2 separate regions of the Homo sapiens genome follow, and region 1 is linked to region 2. Evidence: promoter capture Hi-C in human tissues and cell types (Jung and others, 2019). All regions are on one chromosome and are shown on one strand. Each heading gives the region's core, a stretch centred on a gene start or on the middle of the fragment in contact. The rest is flanking DNA. Distances are from core to core; before and after follow the strand shown. Region 1 overlaps ST8SIA2 (ST8 alpha-N-acetyl-neuraminide alpha-2,8-sialyltransferase 2). Region 2 holds the start of C15orf32 (chromosome 15 putative open reading frame 32).

The links. Contacts are between HindIII fragments. The study calls those that stand out against the background at their distance.
Region 1: a fragment that was not itself captured here is called in contact with the fragment with the promoter of C15orf32 in region 2 in 2 of the 25 tissues and cell types used here (H1 embryonic stem cells and pancreas).

What each region holds. Positions count from the first base shown.
Region 1 is chr15:92,430,334-92,437,437 of GRCh38, reverse strand. ST8SIA2 (ST8 alpha-N-acetyl-neuraminide alpha-2,8-sialyltransferase 2) reads right to left here. Exons shown (of 6, transcript NM_006011.4): 3 at 3,063-3,191. Among named protein-coding and RNA genes, the nearest start is that of C15orf32, 38 kb to the left of the region's middle. RefSeq lists an enhancer at 7,011-7,104. The HindIII fragment of the contact is 4,476 bases long and covers 945-5,420 here.
Region 2 is chr15:92,469,616-92,477,324 of GRCh38, reverse strand. C15orf32 (chromosome 15 putative open reading frame 32) reads right to left here and starts at 5,648. Exons shown (of 3, transcript NR_161371.1): 1 at 4,803-5,648; 2 at 4,215-4,372. LOC104613533 (a long non-coding RNA gene) reads left to right here and starts at 5,779. Exons shown (of 2, transcript NR_126501.1): 1 at 5,779-6,084; 2 at 6,919-7,092. The HindIII fragment of the contact is 6,399 bases long and covers 3,424-7,709 here.

The DNA.
Region 1 (7,104 bases), core at 1,933-4,432, 37 kb after region 2:
GCAAAGCACAAAGAAAGGATGGAGTGGGGTCAGGAAAGGGATGGGTGTCCTCTTAGCCTTGCCAGAAAAGCTTTACCTGAAACACACAGCCTTCTGCCAAGGAACCTGAAAATCCTAGCTGGGCGTTTTACTTAAAGAACTGTTTAAATCACCTGAGATTTTAAGAAATGATTCCAGTCATAAAGAGAAAGGAATTGAGTACCTAGATAAGCTGAAATTAATTTCATATTCTGCTGCAAATTCCTATCTAGAACAGATACAAAGATGCTGTTCTTTGTTTTCAGAGTCCTGGAGGTGCAGAATTTTCATGCACTTTGCAAATGTTAGACGCTGCAGGATGGCTGTCCCATCTCGCAGATAGTAACACTGAGGCCTGAAAGCCTGCTGGATTTGAGATGTTCACAACCTATGGTACGTTCCAGTAGGCTGCACATTCAGTCACTTGGGGAACCTTTAAGTATTTCAAATTTCCAGGCTGACATGTGAGAAATCTTGATTCTGAGAGTGGCCCAGTTCTCAGCATTGCTCTCAAAAGCTCCCCGGGTGACTTTAATGTGTGTCCAGGTTCAAGAGCCTCCGGGGCAGCCAGGGGGCAGCTAGAACACTTGGTAAGCTCGGCGCGTCTCATCCATTGTCTTTCCTTATTGATGACCTGCCTCTCTTGCTATCATGTAGGGGAAACCACCCTTGTAGAATAATTCGTATCTGTTGATGGAAAACAGAGGCACTGTTTTTATTTACTGTGCTTTACCAAGGATTATATGACTTGACAAACTAATATAGTTGGGAAATTGCTGAAACCTTTGCAATTACTTACCCCAAAGCATTTAAAAACAAAGAGAGCCCCTAGAAAGCCCATAAATAAACACCTCTGTGAGTGAATTAATTTCTAACTAATTAGGAGAAATTACCATCAATTATTAAACATCATTCCAAATCACTTGCAGAATCTTTTATTATGAATAATCTTGGTGATTAATTGAAGCTGGAGGAAATTCTTTTTCCCTCTGGGTAAAGGTACATTGTTGCTGCTGAAGGGACTGTGTTTGCAGGGTCTTTATGAAGGACACAGTCTCGTCTTCACAAGGGGTGGGGGAGCTATTTCTCTATCCAATGGTTGGAGAAAGGGACATTGGGGACCATGGGTAGCTCATACTGGCAGGAGGATTTCATTCACGGTGGTGTAGTGGGGAGAATGGTGACCCCCTCTAAAATATATGCCCACCTCCTAACCCCTGGAACCTGTGAATGTGACCACATGTCAAAAGAACATCTTTGCGGATGTAATTAACTTAAGGATCTGGAGATTAGATCCTGGATTACCCGGGTGGGCCTTAAATACAATGACAGGTGTCCTTATAGGAGACAGAAGAGAAGAAGATAGAAGCACAGAGGAGAGGGCCACGTGAAGATGGAGGCAGGGGTTGGAGTTCTGCGGCCACCAGAGGCTGGAAGCGGTGAGAGGATGGGTTCTCCCTTGGAGCCTGCAAGGGGGTGCTCAGAATTGTGGCATCCAGAGCGGTGCAAGAATACATTTCTGTTGTTTTAGGCCGCCGCCGCGTTGTTGGTAATTTGTTACAGCAGCCCTAGGGAGCTAATGCAGTTGGGGTTGCTGACTCCACGGTGTCCCTGATCAAAGGGGGCGGTTGTTAGGGCTTCGTGAGGGGGATGGAGGGCCACCAGGAGGCCTCTGAAGAGGCGGTAAGTAAGGAGTGCAGGGTGGCAGGGAGTCAGCTACTTCAGATGGTTTCTCAGCTGCTAGGTCCCCAGAGCTCATGCCTTTCAATTCCCCAGCCCTGCACAGGTCCCAAAACTAAGCTTCAAGAACTAGGGTGCAGAGGCATTTCCATTTTGACAGTGAGCCTTGTGGAGGGGGCAACTCCCTGCTCTGCGTGGTGACATTGCTGATGGCTGCTCTCCTCTCTCCCCATGGTATGGCCTGGGATGGTCATCAATCATTCCCCGTCTGGTCCTGCCTATCGTCCCAACCTTACCCCCCTATTCCTTGCCTCCTGCTTCCTGCTCCTGCAGCACTGTCCACAAGCACCAGATCACAGACTCTGTGCATGTGGGAAGCAGCTTGGTGAACTCCTAATTATCCTTCAAAACCCACTGCTCCTGGCCAGCCTTTCCTGGCCAGTCTTCTTAGTCCTCTTACAAAATGAATGACTCTTTGCTCAGTATGGCCTGTTTATTTCCATCTATGTGTAAGATGCAGCACCACCTCATGTGTATGTCATACCACGCTGTCTTGTCTTTGCTTATATTCATGTCCCCAGCTAGCATGTCTGATTCATGCTAGCACTCCTGGGGCCCCAGCACGATGCCTGGAACTGAATAGTTGGATTATACTTACAAATATTTGCTGGGTCAATCATGGCTATATCTAAGCTAAGTGTCCAAAATGCCGAAGTTGTAATTCCTTCTCTACGGTTCCCCATTGCCACTACCCGATGATGGCTGCAGTGCTCTGAAAACATCACTCTGCACAGATCAGGACGAGAGCTGCTCTCTGGCTAAACAGACCTCTGCTTTCTGGTCGGGTGTCATGTCAGTTCCTGGGTTCTCCGGATGCCCCTATGGCTCTAGGTTTTCATTTTCACGTTGTTAGGGAGGAGCAGCCTATACAAGCCCAAGGGCTGAGAGAGGGAGCAGCTCTCCAGGAACAAACTGGAGGACTGTCACTGAAAGGGGATGTGACTCCCAGGCAGACCCCAACAAGTAAGGACTCTTTATGCCTGGGAAGAAGCAGCCACCTGTGGCCTCCACTGCCCAGATTCCCTCTGCTGCTGACCCGAGACTCAAGGTTTGCTGCTTCTAAGCCCAGAACCTCAGCGGGTGTTCCTGCCACCGCCTGGCCCCAGTCGCCACATACACAGGCTGGGCCGCTAGGCTTGTCTCGGGTTTTTATTTCCGATTGATCACTTACAGATGAAACCTGCCTCAGTGGGAGGTAAACATTTTATTTCTATCCTGACTTCTTTAGATGACGAAGAGAAGCAATTTGCCCGTGTATGCTCAAGACCAAGTCTACCTCTTGTCCTGTAGGTAATTACCAGTACCTGATCCTCAGAGAGAGCGTCTGGTTATGTCTCCATTTGGACGAGGCTGGCTGGATGTTGTGCTTGATGCTTTCATTACTTCTGTCAACAACAGCTGGTGATGAGGAGCCGTTTATTACAACTTCAGCTCTGGAAGGGAAAAAAAAAGAAAGAGGGTAGACATGATGTGTTAGCAAGCCGACGACAAGTCTAATAGTTTTGTTTTTGCACGGGCTTGAATGTAAACTTCTCCAGAAGAGCAAAATTGCAGTTATTACCTGAGAAGAGAAGGAAGTCTATTTATCTTCCAGTAATGCAGAAACTCTGTCCCTAAGGTATAACCTACATACATTGTTGGAGACAGGAAGGAGGGTGATAAACTTATTCTTCTTCCCCTGCCCCTAGTGATTTTTTTTTTCCTGGTAAAACCTGGCAGTCACTGTCAGAAGAGTAATATTTCTTATTCAAGCTATTGATAAGAAACTCTACAAGGAGCAGGTATATGAGCAACAAAGTATCAAATGATGGTCTTACAAACTTAAAAGAGAAAACAAGAACTCATACCAGGACAATGTCATTGTAGCCTGTGGCTTCACCCTCCTCCCTGGCAGCCCCATCACTCTCTTGAGGGTAATTCTGAGATATGCTCCTTGAAACATGGACCTTGTTACACAGTCATCTGTGCTGTGTCTGTCCCTCATAGGAGACTGTACGCAAGGGATCTCCCACATTCATTTTATATTCCCTAATGGTCTAACATAGCGGGTGCTCAATAAATAAGTATTGTTGAATTTAGGTTGAAATCGATCCCGGGGGAGCCTGGAGTGAATGAAAGAACTGGCTGGCTTTATACTCCCTGGGTGGATCACGATTCTGGGTAAACACCCCCTTTCCATCTGACTCAGGAACACCAGGTATTATAGGACTGGCTTGAATTCAGAGGCTTGAAATCTATGCTAGTAGGTTTCTATAAACTAGGTTACAATTCTATCTTTAAAGGCAGTGTAAGAGTTAGCCGCCTTGCTGCTGGATGCACACAGATATATGTGGGTCACATCCAAAGTTCTTTTTGTCTGTGCTGACAGCAGATTCTCCCAGTTAGAATAAGTGGATTTGTGATGACACATTCTGAAGCTTTAAAGAGTTCAAACCAAACATCTGTGTCCTCTCCATTTATCTTGAAACAGCCAAGTTAAAAAAGATGAAATCCTGTTAGTGAGTTCTAAACCTGACGCTCCACTTTGACTTTTTTCTTTTTTTTTTTTTGGAGACAGAGGCGGGCTCTGTCACCCAGGCTGGGGTGCAGTGGCATGATCTCAGCTCACTGCAACCTCCACCACCCAGGCTCAAGCAATTCTCCTGCCTCAGCCTCCTGAGTAGCTGGGATTACAGGCGAATGCCACCACACCCGGCTAATTTTTGTATTTTAGTAAAGATGGGGTTTCGCCCGTTGTCCAGGCTGGTCTTGAACTCCTGACCTCAGGAGATTTGCCTGCCTCGGTCTCCCAAAGTGCTGAGATTACAGGCATGAGCCACCATGCTTGGCCCTAGTTTGACTTTTGCAGGTAGAGAAGGACTTCGCTTAGGGGTGCATGTTGTCTCACACATTCCCTTCATGCACCCACCTCCATTCCTCAATATTTCTGACTCCTTCTGGCTGATATCACTTCTCTTGAATTCAAATATCTGTAACTTCGCAGAGGATAGAGAATTGACGAGTTTTGAGTAAGGCAGAGGAACTCTTCCTAGCATGCAGGCTTAAGGGAGCTTCCGAGAGGGTACACAAGACCTAACCCTTTGGAATTTTTACTGTTTTCATGCAAGACGCATTGGGTACAGTGGAAAGATTTCATAAGCTGTGTGACTGTGGGTCGATAGCTTTACTTCTCTGAGCCACAGATTGCCCATTTATAGAAACAAGGTGTAGAAGAGACAGATATCCATCTCGTGAGGTTCTGGAATTTTCAAAGGAGCACCGATGTTTCTGGCATGCCCCACTGGCTGCCACCTCATGAGGCTCTAGCAGGAGCTGGCATTGCTGCATCCTTTTGATACCACCAACTTCTATGCAGAACACAGGCAGGGGCACTGACCTCAGCGACACAGAATTAGCGGCTTCACCCCAGCTTTGTTGAAGCCTACCTCAGTAGGCACGCACAACAGAAATGCTTTAATGTTGGTGATGAGGAGTTATCGCACTAAGAGGCTAGCTGATGTACTCATCAGAAATCAGTGACTGGGCTCTGGTGTCTCATGGCTTAAGGTGGGTTCAGTCTAGGGTGATGCTTCTCAGAGACTGGGGCACACTGGATGGCACTAGGCTCAGGAAAGAAGGAGCTGCAGAGGAATTCTCCCGTGGATGCCTGGAGAGGAGACCTGCTTGGAAACCTCCAGGAAAGGTTTCCAGACTTCTCCTGGACACAAGATGGCAAAGGCTGGAAAGGGAGAGAGATAAATGCTGGTGTGGGTAATGGTAAAATTCCATTTCTCTCTCCACTTTCCAGGGTGAATTTGGATGGCATCCTGCATAGCCCATCATGGTCTTAAGGGATTTTAACCCTGGCTCAGTTGCAGTCTACCTGGGGGACTTGGAAAAGTCACTTCAGATTTCTAGACTCTGCCTTCTTATCTGTAAAATAAAGGGGATGGATTAGAAAACTCCAGGGTCCACCTCGGTTCACAGGTTTTACATGCTGTGTGCTGCACAAACACGTTGGATTGGTGAGTTGAGATATTCCTTTTCAATGAATGTGTTCTCCTGTTTCCAGTCCCCTCCCCCATTTCCAAAATGACACTAGAGGTACATTTCAGGCTTAAGTTGCTTCACCTCCCGACTCCTGAACTTCACTCCCAGTGACCTTCTTTTCATGCCACAGATATATCCACAGTAGTAGTAACAAGCATCAAATAAGTACCTTTAACATATCAGGTGTTGGGTTAGATAGATTCTTACATTTGGTGGTTCTAATCCTTAAACACTCCTCAAAGAAGACACTGCAGTATTATTCTAATTAAATGGGGAAGCCAAGGCTCAGAGGGGTAAAATCACTTGCCTAAGGTCCTGGCTAACAAACACTGGGGCTGAGGCCAGGGCTGCCTGGCTCCCAGGACTGTTTTTTTCCACTTCTCATACTTGATTCATATGAGACTGTGGCCCCTCAAGCTACCACGAGGACTTGGGCTTCAGGGGCAGGATCTTCTTTCTCCGAAATGGGGCATCATTTCATAATAGAACAGAGAGAGACTTAGGAGCACATGGCCTTCTTTCTTTCTGCCATATTCACATTTCACCTGGCATAACACGGGCTTCATTCATAGCTCCAAGGTGGCTAAGAGGTCATTAGAGAGCTAGAAGCAATGATGTCAGGGACAGAGGGAACAGTTTCTCGAGTCAGTCATGCAGGGTCAGGGACAGATGTACTTCACAGGTCTCATACAGAAAAGAGATCTAAAAAAATATGGAAGGGCAAATAATAGACAATCCTCTGCATCATATGGACCTCTTATTCCCACAATGACCAAAATAGGATATTTAGAAAGAAAAACAAGGCCCTGATTTTGAGTAGTAGCCTTTGTTTACATCATATAACTTGGCACTTCCTTCCACCGCTCCTTAAGCTCAAGCTTATAAGACTACAGGCCATAGCTATGGGGCACTTGTCATTGATGGAGAATGGGGACTCAGAAGCATGGTGTAGCCACAGCCAGGGGCAAGCCTGGGTTTGCACGCTGTCCTGCATCAAGCTGTCCCCTGGCAATGACTGTTCTGCACCATTACATGAAGTAGAAACACTCTTTCAGAATTTGGAGCGTACGTTCAATAATCAGGGTTAACATTACTGTGTTGACTCCCTAAATATTTTAAGAGGTCTCAGCAAAGTTCCCGAATGCTTTATTTTCCATCTTAACCTCCTGGACGAGCCATTTACCACAATGAAATTGAGTGAAAATGCTGGTTCCCTTCAGGGTCTCCATTGCTCAGCAAACATGCAAGTTTGAGTAAGCTCATTGGTGTCCCAGGCATTACAAAGTGGGTGGGCTGTTTTCCAGAAAGTGACTCTTA
Region 2 (7,709 bases), core at 4,399-6,898:
CTGTTATGTTGGTAGAATTAAAAGTGTTAAGTAAATCAAGAGAGTGGGTCTCATTCTATAAGGACTAGGAGAAAGTGATGTGATGAAGAGGGGAGAGCCACTTAGCAAGGCCACGTGTGGGGTGACCCAAAGCACAGGTGGACGTTGAAAGTCGAACAGAGGGTGCAGCTGAGAACATGCCAGGCAGCCCCCACCCCATGCTGGTGGCTGTGGTTAGAGACAGTACTGGGCCCCACTTGCCCAGCTCAGTGATCTGTGGAGCAGCCACCACTTTCATCCTCAGCTCCCCATTTCTTTCCACTTTGACTCCCACAGGAGGGTAGTTGGAAACATCCATCCTCCCCCAGAAACACCAGGAGAAAACTGATCTGCATCTCAATTGCTTCTGCAATTGACAGTAAGCCTAGGAAACTATAGCATTCCCTCAATGGCTGGCCTGGTGACTGGTATTACAATCAGAAGATCCATAAACAAACCATGAAAACTATGATTAGAAGTGGAGCATTGAGGTCTCATTATACCTTGGGGGAGGGTGCAGAGGAAAGAGAATGAAGGCATGAAGGGGTGGACTTGGGTTGGACAAAAACAAGGTGAGGCTGCAGGTCTCAATGTTGACTGTGTGGGCACCTGCCTCTCCCTCCTCTGGCATCGCTGAGACCATTATCCACAAATCAAGGGCCTCGTGAATCGAGCTGGCCTCACCTGGGGCATCATCACGACCTAGTAGGGAGGCTGGGCAATGGTGGCAGGGCTTATTCCCCTGGTGGCTTTTGTAAATTGGCCAGGGTTGGCAGCAGTGTGATAGCTAGCGTCTTGAATGCTTCTTCTGTTCCTTGCTGCCACTGAAGAGGGTGGAGGTTTCCCAGAAGGGTAGACCAGAGAGTCAACATCCCACTATCAAAATCCCACTCATTCTTCAAGGTCCAGCTTATCTATCACCTTCTCTGTGAATCCTCTGAACCCCCTCAGTTGGTTGGATTGGCATTTCCTCTTTATTTCATTCTGCCATTGGCTGTGCATAATTGTTCCCCCCTTAGACTTGAGCTTCCTGAGGCAGGGACTGTGTGTCCTACAACGTCCACAGCAGGCGTAGTTCATTGCTGGCTCTCAGTGGTGTCTGTGAAGCTGGATGAATGAATGGAAGCACATACTCTTTGGCACACACATGGAGACCTCTTCTTGACCTATTCTTGTTGAGATCTATTGGGTGGCGCATCAGTGTAGGTTGTGTACTATGCATGTGTACTAAACCTCACAGCCCTGCAGCTAGAAGGGTGCGAAGCTTTGGATGTGGGGGTATGAGGGTCAGAGTGTCCCAGCCTTCACTCTTCCCCTGCAGCCTGTGTCTGTAGAGGAAAGGAGAGCTCCCTTCATGGGCACATGAACTACGTTCCTAAGGCTTATTTCAAAGTTCTGCTTCCATTCGGCAGTAAAGATGGTCCTAGAGAGAATGGATAAGTTAAGGAGGAAGGCATTGAAATGGGTGAGTTGGGGAAACAGCAGCAAGTATTCAAAGGCTACCCTCTCCTCTGTGAAGCTTCCCCTGAAGTGCCCTCTCTGGTGTAACCTCCTGCAAGTAGAGTTCCGGGCTCCTTTCCCTCTGTGCTCCCTCTCTCTACACAGCAGTATGCTCATTGTTCTACAACAGCTCTTACAGTGCTCTCCTGTGTCTGCTCTCTCTCCCCCTCCTACCACTGCATGGCAAGTCCCCATAGGAGCAAACACAGGGTGTTCATATGCCAGGACGTCTAGTGGACACTCCCTGATGTTTCTTAAATGAATGGGTGAAGAAATCCCCTCGAAATTCATAGGTTGAAATCCTAGCCCCCAGGTGATAGTATTAGGAGGTATTAGGAGGTGGGGAGATAATTATGTCATGAGGGTGGGACGTTCTTGAATGAGATTGGTGACCTTATAAGAAGAGACATGAGACACCAGAGCTTGCCTCTGTCTCTCTGCTTTCTGCCATGGGAGAATATGGCAAGAAGACGGCCATCTGCAAGCCAAGAAACAAGCTCTCACCAAGAACTGAACCTGCTGGTACTTTGATGTTGGACTTTCCAGCCTCCAGAACTGTGAGAAATAAATGTTTGTTGTTTAAGCCACCAAGTCAATGTTATATTTGTTATAGTAGCCTAAACTGACTAAGATAGAGAGGAATGAATGAACGAATGAATAGGCTTCAATTGCTATACAGATTAGGGAGGCAGAGATTCCTAGAAGCAAGTTTCAACCTGAGTTTGATCCCTGTTCTGCCACTTACTAGCTATGGGACAAGCCATGGGCCTTGTCCATAAAATAGAGATAAATAACACCAGCCTCACAGGGGGTGGTGGAGGAATGAGTGGCCTAATCAAAGTGCTCGATGCCATAGCTGGCACACAGCAGACACTCAACAAGTGGAAGGTATGATGGCTGGTTACTTGACTCATTTAGGGTGCTGCAGGAACACAAAGCCATTCCAACATTCAATGAGGTGCTGACATTAGATTGAGGGTGCTGTCTGTTCTATCCCTGTGCTCCTAACTGTGGCTCTCAGGTAGAGGGAGACAGAGATTTCTGTTCCCTCAGTTGTTCAGGCCTAGAAACTGAGGTCTGGGGAGCCTACTTGTTGAGTAGCCAAAGATGAAAGATTTCAGTAAACTGGAAAGCATTCATCCATTCATTCAACAGGGATTCATTCATTATTGGGCACCTACTGCATGCCAGGCCATGCCTGCTTGCTTCAACAGTGAAGAAGGTAGGCTGAGCTAGGTACAAACTGAGTAGAACTTGCCACCAACTAGTCCTTGCCCCCTTGGCCTGAGAAAGCAGCCCCAGAGGAGAAGCAATGAGTTGCCAAGCATCTAATGCTCTGAGTGGGTGAAGAACTTAAGGCTGTATATCTAGTTTAATCACAAGAGCAACCCAGCCCGGCAAGCTTTTAATTTCCACTTTACTGATCATTGAGTGGCTGGATCCACTCTGCTCAGTCAGGAAGCTGAGGAGGCAGGGGTAGGGCCTGGGCCATCTGAGGTCCCCTATTTTCCCTGATGCTGCAAAGGAGGGCCTGATACCCCTTCCCTGCAGTAACCCAGCCTGATGCAAACACTTAATTTCAAGGCAAGCTGTTGGAGCAAGGGAGCCGATTAGGTGAGCTGGTAGCGTCTTGTAGCATTCAAGGACAATGCCCTGCACTTTAGCAGCCCATTTCGCTCTCCAGCTCTTCATTCGTTTGCTCTGTCCTCTGCTTTGTTGATTTCACTTCTCGCTTCCAGGCTGGCCTCTGCCAGAGAGTGATTCCACATTTTCCCAGCAGCCTGGCTGCCTCCCATCTCATCCTCAGACACTGAGCCAAGTGGCCCGGTATGTGCAAAGAAGGATGCTCAGCTTCCCTGGCAAATTCGAAAGGCAGCCGCAGCAGCCATGGGCCCAGGGCTATGTAGCCTGAGCCTGTCGCTGGTTCTGCACTAGGAGCATTTCCACTGGGTGGACCCGGGTGACAGCTGGGGTCGGAGAGGCGCTGGCGGCTGAGCCAGGTGTGGGGACAGCAACTGTGGGAACTGGCTGGATCACTCACCTACGAAGTCTAATGCTGTGGGTTTGGCTTGATCTCAGGCCTCAGTTTCTAGGCCTGAGCAAAATAGGTACATTTCTCTGTCTCCCTGTACCTGAAAGCTGCAGTTAGGATCATAGTGATAGAACAGACCACACCCCTAAATTAATGTCAGCACCTCATTTAATGTTGGCATGGCTTTGTCTTTCTGCAACACCCTGAGTCGAGTAGCTAGCTACCTTCCATTAGCTGAGTGTCTGCCGTGTGTCAGCCACTGCACTGAGCACTTTGACTAGACTGCTCCTTCCTCCATCACCCCCTCTGAAGCTGGTGTTATTTATCCCCATTTTATGACCTTCATCAGCTTCAGTGGCTGCAGATCAAGGTCAAGCTTAGAGGCTTCCTGCACCACTCTGGAACCTGAGGGCTTCAGTTTAAATTCCTGCTCAACCATTTCCCAGTTTTTTGGCCTTGGGGAAGTTTATCAACCTCTTGGTTCAGTTTCCTCCTCTGCAGAGTGAGAATAATAATAATGTCAACCTCAAATGGGTAGCTATGAGAATTAAATGATCTAGCCCATGTAAAGCGTCTAGTTAGTGCTCAGTGAACATTTCCTGTTCTTTTCTGGTCCTCAGACCCTCTTTCTGTTTCTGTCATCCTCTGGCCCTTCACTGTGTACCTCTCAGAGGCTATTCAAGGTGATGGTTTGCTCATTACCAGTCCTGGCTGACTCTCATAAGATGCCTCTTCTGGTGCCTCTCTATGCTTCCGCAATTGAATTTGCAATCTGTACACACATCAGCTACACAGAATATCTGCTTTGGGTCGAGGATGTGTCTGTGGAAAACAAGAGAGGAAAGCCAGTCACCCAAAGTAGCTGCCACAGAAACAGCAGTGCAGTGAGGCTCTGGTGTCTTGCCCAGTGGTCTAAACGCCCAAATCGGCCACCTGGCCCCTAGTTTCTTGCCTGGAGAACCTGGGAGCAGGGGTGATATGCAAAGTATTTACCAATACAGAGGGCCCCTGACCAATCAGAATGGACCTTGGCCACAGTGCTGGAGCACAGGGCACAGGGGGTGCTCAGAGCTGTGGCTCTTGACCACCTGGCAAGGAAGCATTTGAACAATTGACATTGCTATACAGGTGTGCTCTGGGTCTGTATCTGCTTTGCCAGTGGGAAGAGCCAGGGTGGAGCAGTAGCCTGTGAGGAGTCTGGGCTATAGGAAGGTGAGTTCTGTCTTCCTGTCACTCCTGAGTGCAGGCTCACCTTATGACAAGATGGTTGAAGGTTGGTAGAATTAAGTGGCCTTCAGGGCTTTTGAGCTGAGATGGTGTTAACAATGTTGGCTTCAGCATCAAACCATCCACTCGTGAGCTTTGGCATCTTAAATGAGTCTTTAATTTCTGATAAACTTGGTTGTTTGATCTGTAAAATGGGTGCAACACCCCAACAAGGGCTAGTATAGAAAGCATCTCACACAGGGTCCAGACACATGGCCTCGCCGAGAAAGGGGGAGCCGTTCCTTCTCCTCTTGGGGAAGTCTTGGTGTTCTTCCTATTAGGTGGGACCCCTTCCCCACTCTGGGGGTCAGCCGGGTGCAAGTCTTCCTTTGAAGCATCCACACTTGTTCTTTTGTTCATGCAGCAGGAGTTTATTAAGTGCCTACTCTGTGCCAAGCACAGTTCTAGTGGTCAGGAATGCCTCGGTGAACATGCCAGACAAGGCCCCTCTCCTCACAGAACATGAAGGGGAGGCAGAGAACATGGTAGACAGGCCTTTCCTCCCACTGCAAGCATGCAGTAATCCGGAGACCTGGATGCCACTAACACAACGGCAGTGGCAAAAAAACCCACCAGACAAAACCGAGCCCAGCCTGGAATCAGGAAAGGAAACTCTCAGAAGCCAGAAGCAAAAGAAAGACCTCACACCAGGGGCCTGAGAGGGGCTGCCATGGAAGCGGTCACAGAAATTCAGGAACTGAGTCTGGGTCAGTGGTTCCCAGCTGGGGCTACACCTCTGTGTGACCTGGTGAGCTTCAGGAGATGCCCGGGCCATACCCCAGACCAAGGAATCAGATTCCCTGAAGGCCAGACCTAGGTTTCAGGAGGTTTTAAAGCTCCTCCAGTGGTTCCAATGTCCAGCTGAGCTCATAAAGGTCTTTGGGGTGGGGCTAGGGGGTGGAGTTCTAAAGCCTGCACAAGCCAGGAAAGAGCCTCCTGGGTAAGGCAAGGCTCATGAAATTCTCTGAGTGGGTCAAATGGGGACTGGAAAAATTCCACCCACTAGCTCAGCTAATGGGTAAAAATGCTGGACATTTATCTGGAGCTGCAGGGGGTAAAGTGTCATCCTTGGGAAATTCAAAGCTGGCCTGTACCTGCTGAGAGCACCAGGGATATGGTCACATTGCAAGCCTGTTGCCAGCACCCCAGGCAGAGTCATCAACAATTACTTTGGAGGAGGGCCACTTCCACCTTCCAGGGCATAGGTGACCCCTGTGGAAAACAAGTACCCCTGGAACATCCTAGAAGTGGAGGTGGACCATAAACTAGTGAGCAGATATGTCATTGTTTCTCAGTTCTGACCGTGAGCCAGGAAGATGTCCGTGATCAGCTTCCAGAGATGTTTAAACTTGTGTGGAGTGTGGCCTGAGCACTGGGATCTTTTAGGAGGGTCCTTGGGGTTGAGAACTACAAAATAAATGAGATAATTTAGTTTATGAAGACCACCTAGCAGGATAATGTGTCGTGTAATAGAAAGTAATTAGCTGAGGGAGACAAGGAGCAGGCTCCCCAGGAGGTGACATTCAATTTGAAGCATGAAAGATGAGACAGAGAGGGAAGGCAAGGAGCTGGGAAGCAGATTTCCAGGCAGAGGGCGCAACAAGTGCAAAGGCCCTGACACTAGAATAACAGGGAGCCAGAGGGAGGAGGGCTCAAGGTCTTGTAAGCCATGGTAAGATGCTTGGAATTTTCTTGCAAGGATGAAGGAAAGCCACTGAGGGTTTAAGCAGGGCAATGGTGTGATCTGATGTTGGACAAGCAGAATCCTGAAAACTCACAGCTGCATACATTTCACTTGCTTTATACCACTGAGCATCCCCACTCCCTCTACCCAATTTCTCTATCTACCTTGTCCTGTATTTGCATTTTTGCAATAACTGCATAAAGGAGGTCGGTAGGTGTCTTCTCCATTTTACAGATGGAAAAATACCAGAGCCAAGTCTCATTCATGCCCTCTAGGTTCTTGAGTGGCAGGCTTTCAGATCATCTGGTACTCCTTCCAGAGCTCCTGACCAGAGATGGGGCATTTGTGAACACAAGATACAGCCAAGCAACCTGTCCCGCTGTTGTTATTACAGTGAGTTATATTCTTGCCCACCTAGGCCACTGGAATGAGAATGCAGTAAAACAGCTTGCCTCAGAGTGGTCTTCCCTGGAACACACAGCTTCTGTTAAGCATTCATGATTCTGACGGGCCAGTCATCCCTTCATTGACTTTGTCCAGCAGCTCCACCATTACAGTCTCATTTTAGAAAATAAAGACACTTGGAAACAAATTGAAAGGGCGTTTTCCTGCACCAACCCCATTTGACTTGCCTCAGCATGCTGAATGGAGGGCTGCACTCCCCCCATGACTGCCTGGACCCATCACTCTAGGGTCCATGTGGGTTGCATGGCAGTCCTCCACTTTTTGGCCATTGGATCCTCATTTTCTATTAATTCCTTAAGGGATGGCCGCTCATAGCTGGTTCTGGGTCAGTTTTGGAGAATGCTTTTAAATATTTAAAAATGTTGTCATGACTGGAGAACTTGAGGTCTTTGTTGGCATGGTTCTTGGAAGCCCACAGTAGCCCCATTTCCCATCCCCCAGGTTCTAGGGAAAGGTGGCTGAGGAAATGGTGAGGAAGACTGAGAAAGGCCACAAGGGACCTTTAGTGCTCTTTGTTGGGTGGTTCTATTGGGCTTTGGCTGCAGACAGCTAGGACGATTCTAGAGAAACTATGATCTGGGGCTGGATGGCTCAGTGGACTATATATGGAAATTGCCCTGTCACCTGGATTGCTAAGAACAGAAATTACATTACCCCCATCATAAAGCCCCAAACAACTAAGATATTGCTTCTAGATGGTAACCATGGAAACATCCCATTGTTGTGGATGACCTGCCACCAGAA